4 separate regions of the Homo sapiens genome follow, and regions 2, 3 and 4 are each linked to region 1. Evidence: promoter capture Hi-C in 16 types of primary human blood cells and fetal thymus (Javierre and others, 2016). All regions are on one chromosome and are shown on one strand. Each heading gives the region's core, a stretch centred on a gene start or on the middle of the fragment in contact. The rest is flanking DNA. Distances are from core to core; before and after follow the strand shown.

What was found. The method cuts DNA at HindIII sites, captures the fragments that hold promoters and counts their contacts. A CHiCAGO score of 5 or more calls a contact.
Region 2: a contact is called between a fragment that was not itself captured here and the fragment with the promoter of TRAPPC6B in region 1, in 1 of 17 cell types (non-activated CD4 T cells). The highest score is 5.0, in non-activated CD4 T cells.
Region 3: a fragment that was not itself captured here is called in contact with the fragment with the promoter of TRAPPC6B in region 1 in 4 of 17 cell types (M0 macrophages, non-activated CD4 T cells, total B cells and 1 more); the score reaches 12.7 in M0 macrophages.
Region 4: a contact is called between a fragment that was not itself captured here and the fragment with the promoter of TRAPPC6B in region 1, in 7 of 17 cell types (total CD8 T cells, non-activated CD4 T cells, total B cells and 4 more). The highest score is 13.1, in total CD8 T cells.

The regions. Positions count from the first base shown.
Region 1 is chr14:39,168,948-39,171,899 of GRCh38, forward strand. TRAPPC6B (trafficking protein particle complex subunit 6B) reads right to left here and starts at 1,386. Exons shown (of 6, transcript NM_001079537.2): 1 at 1,068-1,386. The coding sequence starts at 1,148. RefSeq lists enhancers at 844-1,433, 1,193-1,242, 2,024-2,613. The HindIII fragment of the contact is 6,900 bases long and covers 1,167-2,952 here.
Region 2 is chr14:45,079,069-45,082,020 of GRCh38, forward strand. No RefSeq gene overlaps it. Among named protein-coding and RNA genes, the nearest start is that of PRPF39-DT, 3.5 kb to the right of the region's middle. The HindIII fragment of the contact is 1,940 bases long and covers 416-2,355 here.
Region 3 is chr14:44,969,558-44,972,509 of GRCh38, forward strand. All of the region lies in intron 1 of TOGARAM1 (TOG array regulator of axonemal microtubules 1), which reads left to right. Among named protein-coding and RNA genes, the nearest start is that of TOGARAM1, 8.8 kb to the left of the region's middle. The HindIII fragment of the contact is 1,063 bases long and covers 840-1,902 here.
Region 4 is chr14:44,950,518-44,953,469 of GRCh38, forward strand. All of the region lies in intron 1 of KLHL28 (kelch like family member 28), which reads right to left. Among named protein-coding and RNA genes, the nearest start is that of KLHL28, 10 kb to the right of the region's middle. The HindIII fragment of the contact is 2,216 bases long and covers 308-2,523 here.

The DNA of each region.
Region 1 (2,952 bases), core at 136-2,635:
TTCTTTAATTACACAAAGCTTTCTAACTTCACCTCTCAATTCTTCTCACTCTCTATTCAGTCTAGTCCAAAGAAATGCTTAAGTGTATTTAAATCCACCACTCTTTCATACCTCTACCACTTTATCTTTGCCTAGGATACATTTCCTATCCCCACTCTCCACTCATTTTTTATCAATAGCATTAAAGAAAGGGCTCCTGACTTGAGCATGACTTTGGAGTATTTCTAAAATCCGTTACAACTCCATGATTCTACCAGCCAATACTCAGTGTTAACTATTCATTAAATCACTATTCCCTAAATACTGTGAGGCAGGAGTATTATTTTATTTAATTTATCTAGCAGTGTCAGCAGTGACAGGCCCACAATGATTGAATAAGGACTCCCACATATTAGAAGTAACCGCTACATACTATCACATTTCGGATTAAATTAGATTAAAAAAAAATCTCTACAAGGATGGGGCCATTGTTTCATTCACTACTATATCCCTGGCACCTAGAAATCGCTCTGACATAAGGGCACTAAATAAATACTTTCTGAAATAATTAATTTAAATTATGTTCCCTAATTATCCTAACGCCTGCAAACTTTCCTTTGCAAACTCAACCTTCATTAGGCTTCAGGTCTCAAGTTGTGTGGAGTTGTACTGAGCATTAGGAATGAGGAAGGAGGGACAGGCTTCTCAGGTTGGCACAGGTCTGTCCAGTGCATGGCTCAAGTGCTGGAAGTGCCAGCAAAACTAAGTAGGCTCTGCAGTTAACCCTCTCGTAAATAATGGCAGGGACAACACTAAAAGTACCAAAATCTGTGGCGTGCAAGACAAACGTACGGGAATAGACAAAAGAGAATCAAATAGAAGAAGATACGAAAGAGAAAACGATGAAAGATGACGGTTCAAAGGAGACAACTGACAGGTTCTAGGGTTTAGGACACCTGGAGGTGGACCATTTTGTGTACACCTCGGGAGGCGTCGGGTGGCGATGGGACAGGGGTTGAAGGAAAGCACTGAGGGGAAACAAGGTGTGTCACCGCAAAAGGACCTCAAGGTTGTGTGGCAGCACTCACCACCTCCCCCTGCTCCGCGGACTTGTACACTCCAGACACCATCTCGTTATGGAGAAGCAAAAACAACGCCTCATCCGCCATTTCCTGCTAATTCTTCCAAGCTTCGAGTTTTGGCTCCCGTTTGAGCTGGTCTGGGGGTTCCAGCTCGCGCCTCAGCGACTTCGCCGGCGCCGCGGCTCCGTCAGGCCGCCATTCTATCCCTGTGGCTAAGAGACCGAGGTATTCACACGACTTCCCAAAGGCTGGTACTGAAATGAGTCTGGTACTGGAGAGAGCCCACACTTCGGGGCTACCAAATCCTAGGGCCGAACTAAAGTCTGACGGGAGCTCTAACCAAAGCCAACCAGCTGAGATGCGATCCGGCCGCTGGGCGGGGGCGAAAAAAACAACTTCCGGTCCCCTCTACCCCGGCATTCGGCCAGCTCTATGATCACTGAGTTCCTCTCTCCCAAGCCCGGAGAGGCCAGCGCCCAGATATGAGGAAGGTTCCCCTCTCACCACGATGTCGGGGGCAGAGCAAGATAAAATAAGACCTAAAGCTCCCGCCTGGCCCGGGCGCGGTGGCTCACGCCTGTAATCCCAGCACTTTGGGTGGCGGAGGCGGGTGGATCACATGAGGTCGGAAGTTCGAACCAGCCTGAGAAACCCCGTCTCTACTATAAGTACAAAATTAGCGGGGCCTGGTGGTGCATGCCTGTAATCCCAGCTACTCGGGAGTCTGAGGCAGGAGAATCGCTTGAACTCGGGAGGCGGAGGTTGCGGTGAGCTGAGATCGCGCCACTGCACTCCAGCCTGGGCAACAAGAGTGAAACTCCGTCTCAAAAAAAAAAAAAAAAAAAGAGCTCCCGCGGCCACCTCCTTGTTAATTAGCAATAGAAGTTAAAAAAATTCTTTTGGCTTCATCAAAAGCATCCACTTCCTGCCATATGTTCTTCAAATATGAAAAGTTGTAGAAAGAGTTTAAAATATACGTTTTCACAGTGCAAATTTTTTAAATATTGAAAAGTTATCCCAATTCCTATTGAATTAAGCCCGGGTATACAAAAAGAATTAGAGCCATTTTGACCACCAGGAATTTTCCTGTTAGTGGGGTGCAAGGGACAAGGGAAGTGGAGCAAACGAAAAACAAGATACACTTGAACCGGAAAATACAGACTAATCAGAGGATTAGGTGAAAAGTGCTATAGAATTCAGAAAAGCGATGTCACTGCAGGATGGAGTTGCTAATAATCTACAGCAGTGTGAGACAACTGTAGGAATTGTCCCACTGCATGTGCAAATAAATACACATGCTACATCATAGTATGTACATCTTAAATTTGGCAAATTCAACCGTAAGCATGTTGCTTAGCCTGTGATTAGTTCTTCCATTGGTAATTCACAAAACAAAATTTTTCCCCAATTGTCCCTGTTGTTTTCCCCCAAATTAACATACCGCAAGGTGGCTCATGCCTGTAAAATCCAGCACTTTGGGAGGCCGAGGCACGGGGGGTGGGGGGGATCACGAGGTCATGAGTTTTGAGAGCAGCCTGGCCAACATGGTGAAAACCCGTCTCCACTAAAAATACAAAAATTAGCCGGGCGTGGTGACAGGTGCCTGTAATCCCAGCTACTCGGGGGGCTGAGGCAGGAGAATCACTTGAACCTGGGAGGCAGAGGTTGCAGCGAGCAGAAATTGTGCCACTGCACTCCAGCCTGGGCGACAGAGCAAGACTTCGTCTCAAAAAACGAAACACACACACAAACTCTTCATGCCCTTTCACAGGAATTTAAGATCATGTTCCAAAATTTTAATTGTGGTAGGTTTTTTTTTTAAGCATGTCCCTTCTAATGTTTGAATCAGTTTATTCCATTCATCACGTAAATCCAGCATAAAAGCTCCACT
Region 2 (2,952 bases), core at 136-2,635, 5.9 Mb after region 1:
TAGGAAATTGAGTATTTCGTTTCCCAGTCTCAATAGTACAGGAAGATAATAGAGAAGATAGTGGGCATGGATATTTCTAAGCTGACCTACAACATCTGCCATATTCCATAAGCCCCACTCTGATGAAACACAGTGGCATTCTATGCCCCAGGAATTGGTATTAATTCAGGTCCAATGTTTAATAAATTCCAAGAAGCCAGCATGTTTTCTGTTTCCTGGTGTGAAGTTACCCTAATAAGTAGCCATAAGTCTCTGAGGGAATAAGAGGAATGTGCAGAGTGGTATTACTATGGCGCTCTTCTTTAAGGTTATCCGGAAACAGGAGTAACAATGATAACTCTCAGGAAGACTGAATTGAGGAGATATTAATACCATTTGAACTAAATATGAAAGACCAAATAGTAAAGAGGAAACAAGCTTCATGTTGTGTTTGGATTTAAATCTCCTGGAGCTACAGTTTTAACTTTACTTGCTTTACCAGTAAGGAGAAACACTAAATACAGGAGTCTGAATGTTTCCAACAGAAGAGTCACCACAATTTATTTAGTGATGGATTATTTATAATGTAAACAAAGTTCATTCCCTAGAGCAATATATTCTGTAAATTAAATGATCCACAAAGTATTTTACGCACTTTTTCATGGCATGTTAACGTTTTGAAGAGAATAAACAGGAATCATACTGAACAGCTCAGAAATTGTGATTAACACTGGGTATCACAAGATACATTTTGCTCTTATATCAATCAGGACCCAGAAGGAAATAGACAGCAAATCAAAATCGGCATAATTTGGGAAGTGGTTAATAAGGGAGTATTTATAAAGGCATGGCTTAGGGAAACCTGGAACCTAGAATGAAGTTATATTGAGAGGGTTACCTTCATCAGAGCTGAGATCACCCACATGGAGGGAGCTGGAGGAATAAATACCCTGACCTCACTCCTCAATTCCACTCTGCCAGGACTTTTTCTTGGCCATACTCAACCAGAAACCAGGAAGCAAGAGAACCTATTGATACGGTCTATAAGGGTCAATCTCCAAATAATGGAGCAGGGTGGATGATCTGTTGATCTGGAGGGGCAAATGGAAGAACTGCATTAATAAATAATATCATTTCCCATTTGTCTGACTTCTTTGTTCTGTTTCTGAGATCACATGACTTTAAATATTGTTTTTTAGAACCCACTGAGAGGTGACAGCGTGCTGGCAGTCCTCACAGCCCTCGCTCGCTCTCGGCGCCTCCTCTGCCTGGGCTCCCACTTTGGCGGCACTTGAGGAGCCCTTCAGCCCACCGCTGCACTGTGGGAGCCCCTTTCTGGACTGGCCAAGGCCGGAGCCGGCTCTCTCAGCTTGCAGGGAGGTGCAGAGGGAGAGGAGCCAGCGGGAAGCGGGGCTGCGCCCGGCGCTTGCGGGCCAGCTGGAGTTCCGGGTGGGCGTGGGCTTGGCGGGCCCCGCACTCGGAGCAGCCGACCGGCCCTGCCGGCCCCGGGCAATGAGGGGCTTAGCACCTGGGCCAGCGGCTGCGGAGGGTGTACTGGGTTCCCCAGCAGTGCCAGCCCACCGGCGCTGCGCTCGATTTCTCGCCGGGCCTTAGCTGCCTTCCCTCGGGGCAGGGCTCAGGACCTGCAGCCCGCCATGCCTGAGCCTCCCACCCCCTTCCTGGGCTCCTGTGCGGCCGAGCCTCCCAGATGAGCGACGCCCCCTGCTCCACGGCGCCCAGTCCCATCGACCACCCGTCGGCTGAGGAGTGCGGGCGCAGGGCGCGGGACTGGCGGGCAGCTCCACCTGCAGCCCCAGAGCGGGATCCACTGGGTGAAGCCAGCTGGGCTCCTGAGTCTGGTGGGAACTTGGAGAACCTTTATGTCTAGCTCAGGGATTGTAAATACACCAATCAGCACTCTGTGTCTAGCTCAGGGTTTGTGAATGCACCAATCGACACTCTGTATCTAGCTACTCTGGTGGGGCCTTGGAGAACCTTTATGTCTAGCTCAGGGATTGTAAATACACCAATCGGCACTCTGTATCTAGCTCAAGGTTTGTAAACACACCAATCAGCACCCTGTGTCTAACTCAGGGTTTGTGAATGCACCAGTCGACACTCTGTATCTAGCTACTCTGGTGGGGACTTGGAGAAGAACCTTTGTGTCCACACTCTGTATCTCGCTAATCTAGTGGGGAGGTGGAGAACCTTTGTGTCTAGCTCAGGGATTGTAAACACACCAATAAGTGCCCTGTCAAAACAGACCACTTGGCTCTACCAATCAGCAGGATGTGGGTGTGGCCAGATAAGAGAATAAAAAGCAGGTCGCCTGGGCCAGTAGTGGCAACCTGATTGGGTCCCCTTCCACACTGTGGAAGCTTTGTTCTTTTGCTCTTTGCAATAAATCTTGCTACTGCTCACTCTTTGGGTCCACACTGCTTTTATGAGCTGTAATACTCACTGCAAAGGTGTGCAGCCTCACTCCTGAAGCCAGCGAGACCACGGGCCCACCGGGAGGAATGAACAAGTCCAGACACGCCACCTTAAGAGCTGCAACACTCACCGCGAGGGTCCGCGGCTTCATTCTTGAAGTCAGTGAGACCAAGAACCCACCAATTCTGGACACACCACTACCCTCTAAACTACATTATTTGGTATAATATCTTTTTTCTTCCCAAAGTTTATAATTGTGATACACAATTTTAAAAAAGTCAACTAAGGGTAAATCAATTTTTTTTTTTTTTGTCTTTTGTTTTTGTTTTGAGATGGAGTCTCACTCTGTCTCCCAGGCTGGAGTGCAGTGGCACCATCTTGGCTCACTCCAACCTCTGCCTCCCGGGTTCAATTAATTCTCCTCCCTCAGCCTCCTGAGTAGCTGGGATTACAGGCGTGCGCCACCACACCCAGCTAATTTTTGTATTTTTAGTAGAGATGGGGTTTCACCATGTTGGTCATGCTGGTCTCGAACTACTG
Region 3 (2,952 bases), core at 121-2,620, 5.8 Mb after region 1:
CCAGTTAATCAGTTTTTTCTTGCATGGATCATGCCTTTGGTATCATATCTAAAAAGTCATCACCATACCCAAGGTCATCTAGGTTTTCTCCTATGTTATCTTCTAGGCATTTTATAGTTTTACAATTTACATTTAAGTCTATGATCCATTTGGAGTTAATTTTTATGAAGGGTGTCAGGTCTGTTTCTAGATTCATTTTTTTTTACATGTGCATGTTCAGTTGTTGCAGCACCATTTGTTGACAACACTGTCTTTACTCCATTGCCTTTACTTCTTTGTCAAAGATCAGCTGACTGTATTCATGTGGGTCTTTTTCTGGGCTCTTTACTCTGCTCCATTAGTGTGCCTATTTTTGCCCATAACACATTGTCTTGATTACTGTAGCTTTATAGTAAATCTTGAAGTTCCGTAGTGTCAGTCTTCTGACTTTGTTGTTTTCCTTCCATGTTGAGTTCACTCTTCTGGGTTTTTTGCCTCTCTGTATAAACTTTAGAATCAGTTTGTTGATGTCCAAAAAATAAGTTGCTGAGAGTTTGATTGGGATTGCATTGAATCTATAGATCAAGTTGAGAAAAACTAACAGCTTGACAATATTGAGTCTTCCTATCCACAAACATGGATTATCTCTTCATTTATTTAGCTCTTCTTTGATATCTTGCATTGGAGTTCTATACTTTCCTCATATAGATACTGTACATATTTTGCTAAATTTAGATTGAAATATCCTACTTCTGTATGTTAATGTAAATGGTAATTTTTTTTAAATTTCAAATTCCACTTGTTCATTGCTGGTATAGAGGAAAATGCTTGACTTTTGCACATTAACTTTGTGTCCTGCAAGCTTGCTATAATATAATCATTTATTATTCGCAGGAGGATTTTTTTTGTTAATTCTTTGAGACTTTCTATGCAGACAATCATGTCATCTGTGAACAAAGACAATTTTATTTCTTCCCAATCTGTATACTTTTTATTCCTTTTCTTGTCTTATTGCATTAGTTTGAACTTCCAATATGATATTGAAAAGCAGTGATGAGAGAGGACATCCTTGCCTTGTTTCTAATCTTAGTGGGAAAGTTTTGAGTTTCTCATAAATATGATGTTATCTGTATGCTTTCTTGTAGTGTTCGCTATAAAGTTGAGAAAGTTCCCCCTGTATTCCTAGTTTGCTGAGAGTTTTCATCATATATGGATATTAGATTTTGTCTAATGCTTTTTTGCATCTATTGATATAATTATGTGATTTTTCTTCTTAAACCTGATGATGTGATGGGTTATATTAATTGATTTTCAAATGTTGAGCCAGCCTTGCATACCTGGGATAAATTCCACTTGGTTGTGGTGTGTTATTCATTTTGTATATTGTTGGATTCAATTTACTAATATTTTGTTGAGGATTTTCACATGTTTGTTCATAGGTGATATTGGTCTGTGGGGTTTTTGTTTTGTTTTGTTTTTGTTTTTTTTCTTATAAGGTCTTTGCTGGTTTTGGTATTAGGGTAGTGCTGGCCTTTTAGAATGAGTCAGAAAGTATTCTCCCTGCTTCTATATTCTGAAGGTAATTGCAGAGAATTGGTATAATTTTTTCTTTAAATGTTCAGTGGAATCCACCAGTAAACCCATCTGACTCTGGTGCTTTCTGTTTTGGAAGGTTATTAATTATTCAGTTTCTTTACAGATACAGGCCTAGTCAGATTATCCATATCTTCTTGTGTGTGTTTTTACACATTGTGTCTTTCAAGGAATTGATCCATTTTATCTAGGTTACCCAATTTATAAGCATAGAGTTGTTAATAGTATTCCTTTATTATCCTTTTAATGTTTATGTGATTTGTAGTGATAGTCTGTCTTTCATTTCTGATATTAGTAATTTGTTTCTCTGTTTTTCTTAGCCTGACCAGAAGCTTATCAATTTTATTGATCTTTTCCAAGAACCCGAGTTTGTTTTTGTTGATTTTCTGTTGATTTCCTTTTTTCAGTTTCACTGATTTCTATGCAAATTTTTTATTTTTTATTTTTCTCCTGCTCACTTTGGATTTAATTTGCTCTTCCTTTGTTAGTTTCCTAGGATGTGCACTTAGATGATCGATTTTAGATCTTTCTTCTTTTCTAATATATGCCTTCAGTGCCATAAATTTCCTCTAGGCACCGCTTTCACTGCATACCGCAAATCTTGATACATTGTATTTTCATTTATTTCAAAATATTTAAAAATTTCACTTGAGATTTCTTTGACTTGTATGTAACTTAGAAGTGTATTTAGTCTACAAGTATGTTGGGGTTTTCCATCTGTATTCTGTTCTCACATTGCTGTAAAGAACTGAGACAAGGTAATTTATAAAGAAAAGAGACTTCATTGACTCATAGTTCCTCATGGCTGGGTAGACCTCGGAAATTTACAATTATGGCAGAAAGTGAAGAGGAAGGAGTCACGTCTTACATGGCCGGAGAAGGAGGAAGAGAGGGCAGGAGGAGATGCTACACACTTTTAAACAACCAGATCTCTTGATAACTCACTATTATGAGAACAGGAAAGGGGATATCCAACCCCATGATCCAGTCATCCCCCAGCAACCCCTCTTTCAACATTGAGGATTACAATTTGAAATGAGATTTGGGACAGGATACAAACCCAAACCATATCACCATCTTAATTTGGCCTGAGAGCAAATATTGTATGATTTCTATTCTTTTAAATTTGTTAAAGTGTGTGTGTGTTTTTTTTTTGCGATAGAACGTGGTATTTCTTTGTTAGTGTTCCATGTGAATTTAAGAAGAATGTGCAGTCTGTTGTTGGATAAAGTAATCTATAGATGTCAATTACATCTAGTTGATTATGATGTTGTTGAGTTCAACTGTGTCTTTACTGATTTTTCTGCCTGCTGGATCTGTCCATTTCTGATTGAGGGGTAATTAAGTCTCCAACTATAATAGTGGGCTTGTGTATTTTTT
Region 4 (2,952 bases), core at 166-2,665, 5.8 Mb after region 1:
TGTAAATACACACATACATGTATGTACACACACAACACATAAATATACACACATGCATATATTTGTATGATATGCAGTATAGTTTTAAGAGACTGGGCTTTGGTACCAGGCTTCCCGGGTTACAATACAATGGTCTGTATTATGTGACCTTGGGAAATTCAGTCAAAAGTTTCAGTTTTCTCATTTGTAAAAAAATAGACAAAATTGTATAAAAAGCAGTTGTAAATATGCCTTTCTATGTGCTGGTACATAAGCACTCAGTAATTGGTAGACGTTATTTATTTTTACTGTTCATCAACCTTTAAAAAGCTTGGTTATTGCCAACTATATCCATGAAATGCCTTTCCATGCATACCAAAAAAGGAAGGAAGTTTGCTTACTGTCCAGGGAACAAATACCTACCAAAGCCAGGCCAAAGCCTCACTAATTCTATCAGTAAAGAGACATATGAGCCATTTTAAAATATAGATGGCTTATTAGATTTAGATAGTTTATTACTTACAGATTGAAAAGAAGATTAGCCAAAGAGTAAACTGCCTGGATCCTTGTCCCGCACATCAAAAATGGTAACACAAAAAAGGGGCTGGCCCCATGAAAACTATGGCTAAGCAGTTTTCTATTCTGTAGCTCTATTCTAAGGGTGTGGGATGGGGTCAAAAGTCTAACACCTAATCACAACCAGGGAAGTGAAGAGAAACTGTCTCATGACACACTTGTAGGGGAAATAGAGAGGTGAGTGGAAAATTGGGAGATGACCTCATAGCAGCTCCTTAGAGGCCTCTCACTCTCTCATATTCCAGGAGAATCACAAGGTGTGTCAAGCCACGGATAAGCTGCAGTCCTGAGGTCCAAGTCTTTGCCTACATGGATACATGCAAGGTGACCAGAGTACCATGACAAAGTTGTTCCCCTATACTTATGCCCCTATAATACTGCTTTATCTCACTTTCCTAGATCTATGTTGTTAAAACCTTTTAAATATTTTCTGACCATTCCAACTAGTAAGTAAGACATTCTATTCATTTGAACCAGCATGGTTCATTTTACTCCATAATAATAGAAATTATCAAAGTGTTTAAAATGGGCCAAAGAAAAGGCACTGGTAAAAGTAACTTCATAAAAGAAAGCCTAGCATATTTTTATAATTGTATTAGATGCAAATGATATACTTTCATTCCTTGTAAGAACTACTGAGAATAAAGTTTAATTTTAAAAATTATAGTTTGAATGCTTAATCAAAACAGTGTCAACTAGCAACTTCAACAAGGCAAGGTAAAAATAGGGAACTTAAAATGAATTACACTAGCAGTTTTCCATAACATAATTTTTTTGTTTTGTTTTTGTTTTTGTTTTTCAGACAGGTTCTCATTCCTGTTGCCCTGGCCAGGGTGTGGTGGCGAGATCTTAGCTTACTCACTGCAGCCTTGACCTCCTGGGCTCAGGTGATTCTCCCACTTCAGCCTCCCAAGTAGCTGGGGCTACAGGCACACATCACCACGCCCGACTAGTTTTTGTATTTTTTTTGTAGAGAAGGAGTTTCACCATGTTGCCTAGGCTAGTCTCGAACTCCTGGACTCAAACGATCACCCACCCTGGACTCCTAAAGTGTTGGGATTACAGGTGTGAGCCACTGAGCATGACCAAATTAAATCTTAAAATTTTTAATTTGGCCCCTTTCCTCTCTCAAAAAATATGACTTTAGAAAAATGCACAGAATTCTAACATTTTCAAATATAGAGTTTTTAAAACAGTGGTTTTCAAATCTGATCCTTGTACCAACAGCATTAGCAACATTTGGGAACCTGCTAGAAATGTAAATTCTTGAGCCCCATCACAGTTGTAAGCAATCAGAAACTACATAGGGCAGTGGGGTTGCAGGAAATGGGCAAACTGTGTTTTAAGTCCTCCAGGTTATTCTTAGGCAAAAGTTCCAGAACCAGTTAAAATATTTATAGCTCAAGTTTAGCAGCTTAAAAATTACTGAAAATTATTTTTAAGAAATATTTAAAATGAAAGTTTTTTAGAGACAGGATCTCACTATGTTGCCCAGGCTGGAGTGCAATGGCCACTCAAAGGCATGATCATGGCACAATGCAACCTCAAACTCCTAGGCTCAAGTGACCTACTTGCCTCAGCCTCATCAGTAGCTGGGACTACAGGTGTCCACCACTGCGTTTGGCTCAAAAACTATAATGCCTTCAAAATTATACATGGCAACTGTGACTATATTTGGTTCTCAGCTATCTACCCATAAATGGCTAAAAAAAGTAATTCAAAGAAGTAATACTTTCTAATCCTCAAAGCCCCACATTTGTCAAACAGTTTTACACTGGCAGTTTCATTTACCTCAGTAACCACTTTGCGTAAAAGGAAGGGTAAGTACCATAAAAAAAAAAAAAACAAACACAGGAAAGAACAGGGAGTAAAAGCATTAATTTTAGAGTCGGACAGATTTGGATTTAAGTCTACATTTTGCTACTTAATAGCTGGGCTATTTGATACTTGGGCAAATTACTTATTCTAAGCTTAAACATTCTCATTTGTAAAATTTGTTGTGGATTAACAGGATTAAATGAGACGTATGTAAGGAAAAATAGATCAATGGAGAACAGAAAATATAAAAGTAGATCATTTAGATATGCAGGTTTAGTATATGATAAAGGTGGAATCTCTGCGAGGGAAAAGAGAAACGTTTAAATAAATGTGTTGAGATAACGGAATAGCCATATGGAAACAGGTAAAACTAGATTTCTGCTACATACCTACACCAACAGGATAAATTACAAATGAATCAGAGGTATATATATGAAAAATGTAATTATATAAATATTAGAATAAAATACGGGTAAAAACTTATGTTGAAATTTAGTCCCCAATGCGGTAGTATTGAGAGGTAGGGCTTTTAAGAGGTAACTGGCAGAGTCCTTATGAACGGATTGATCCACTTATGGA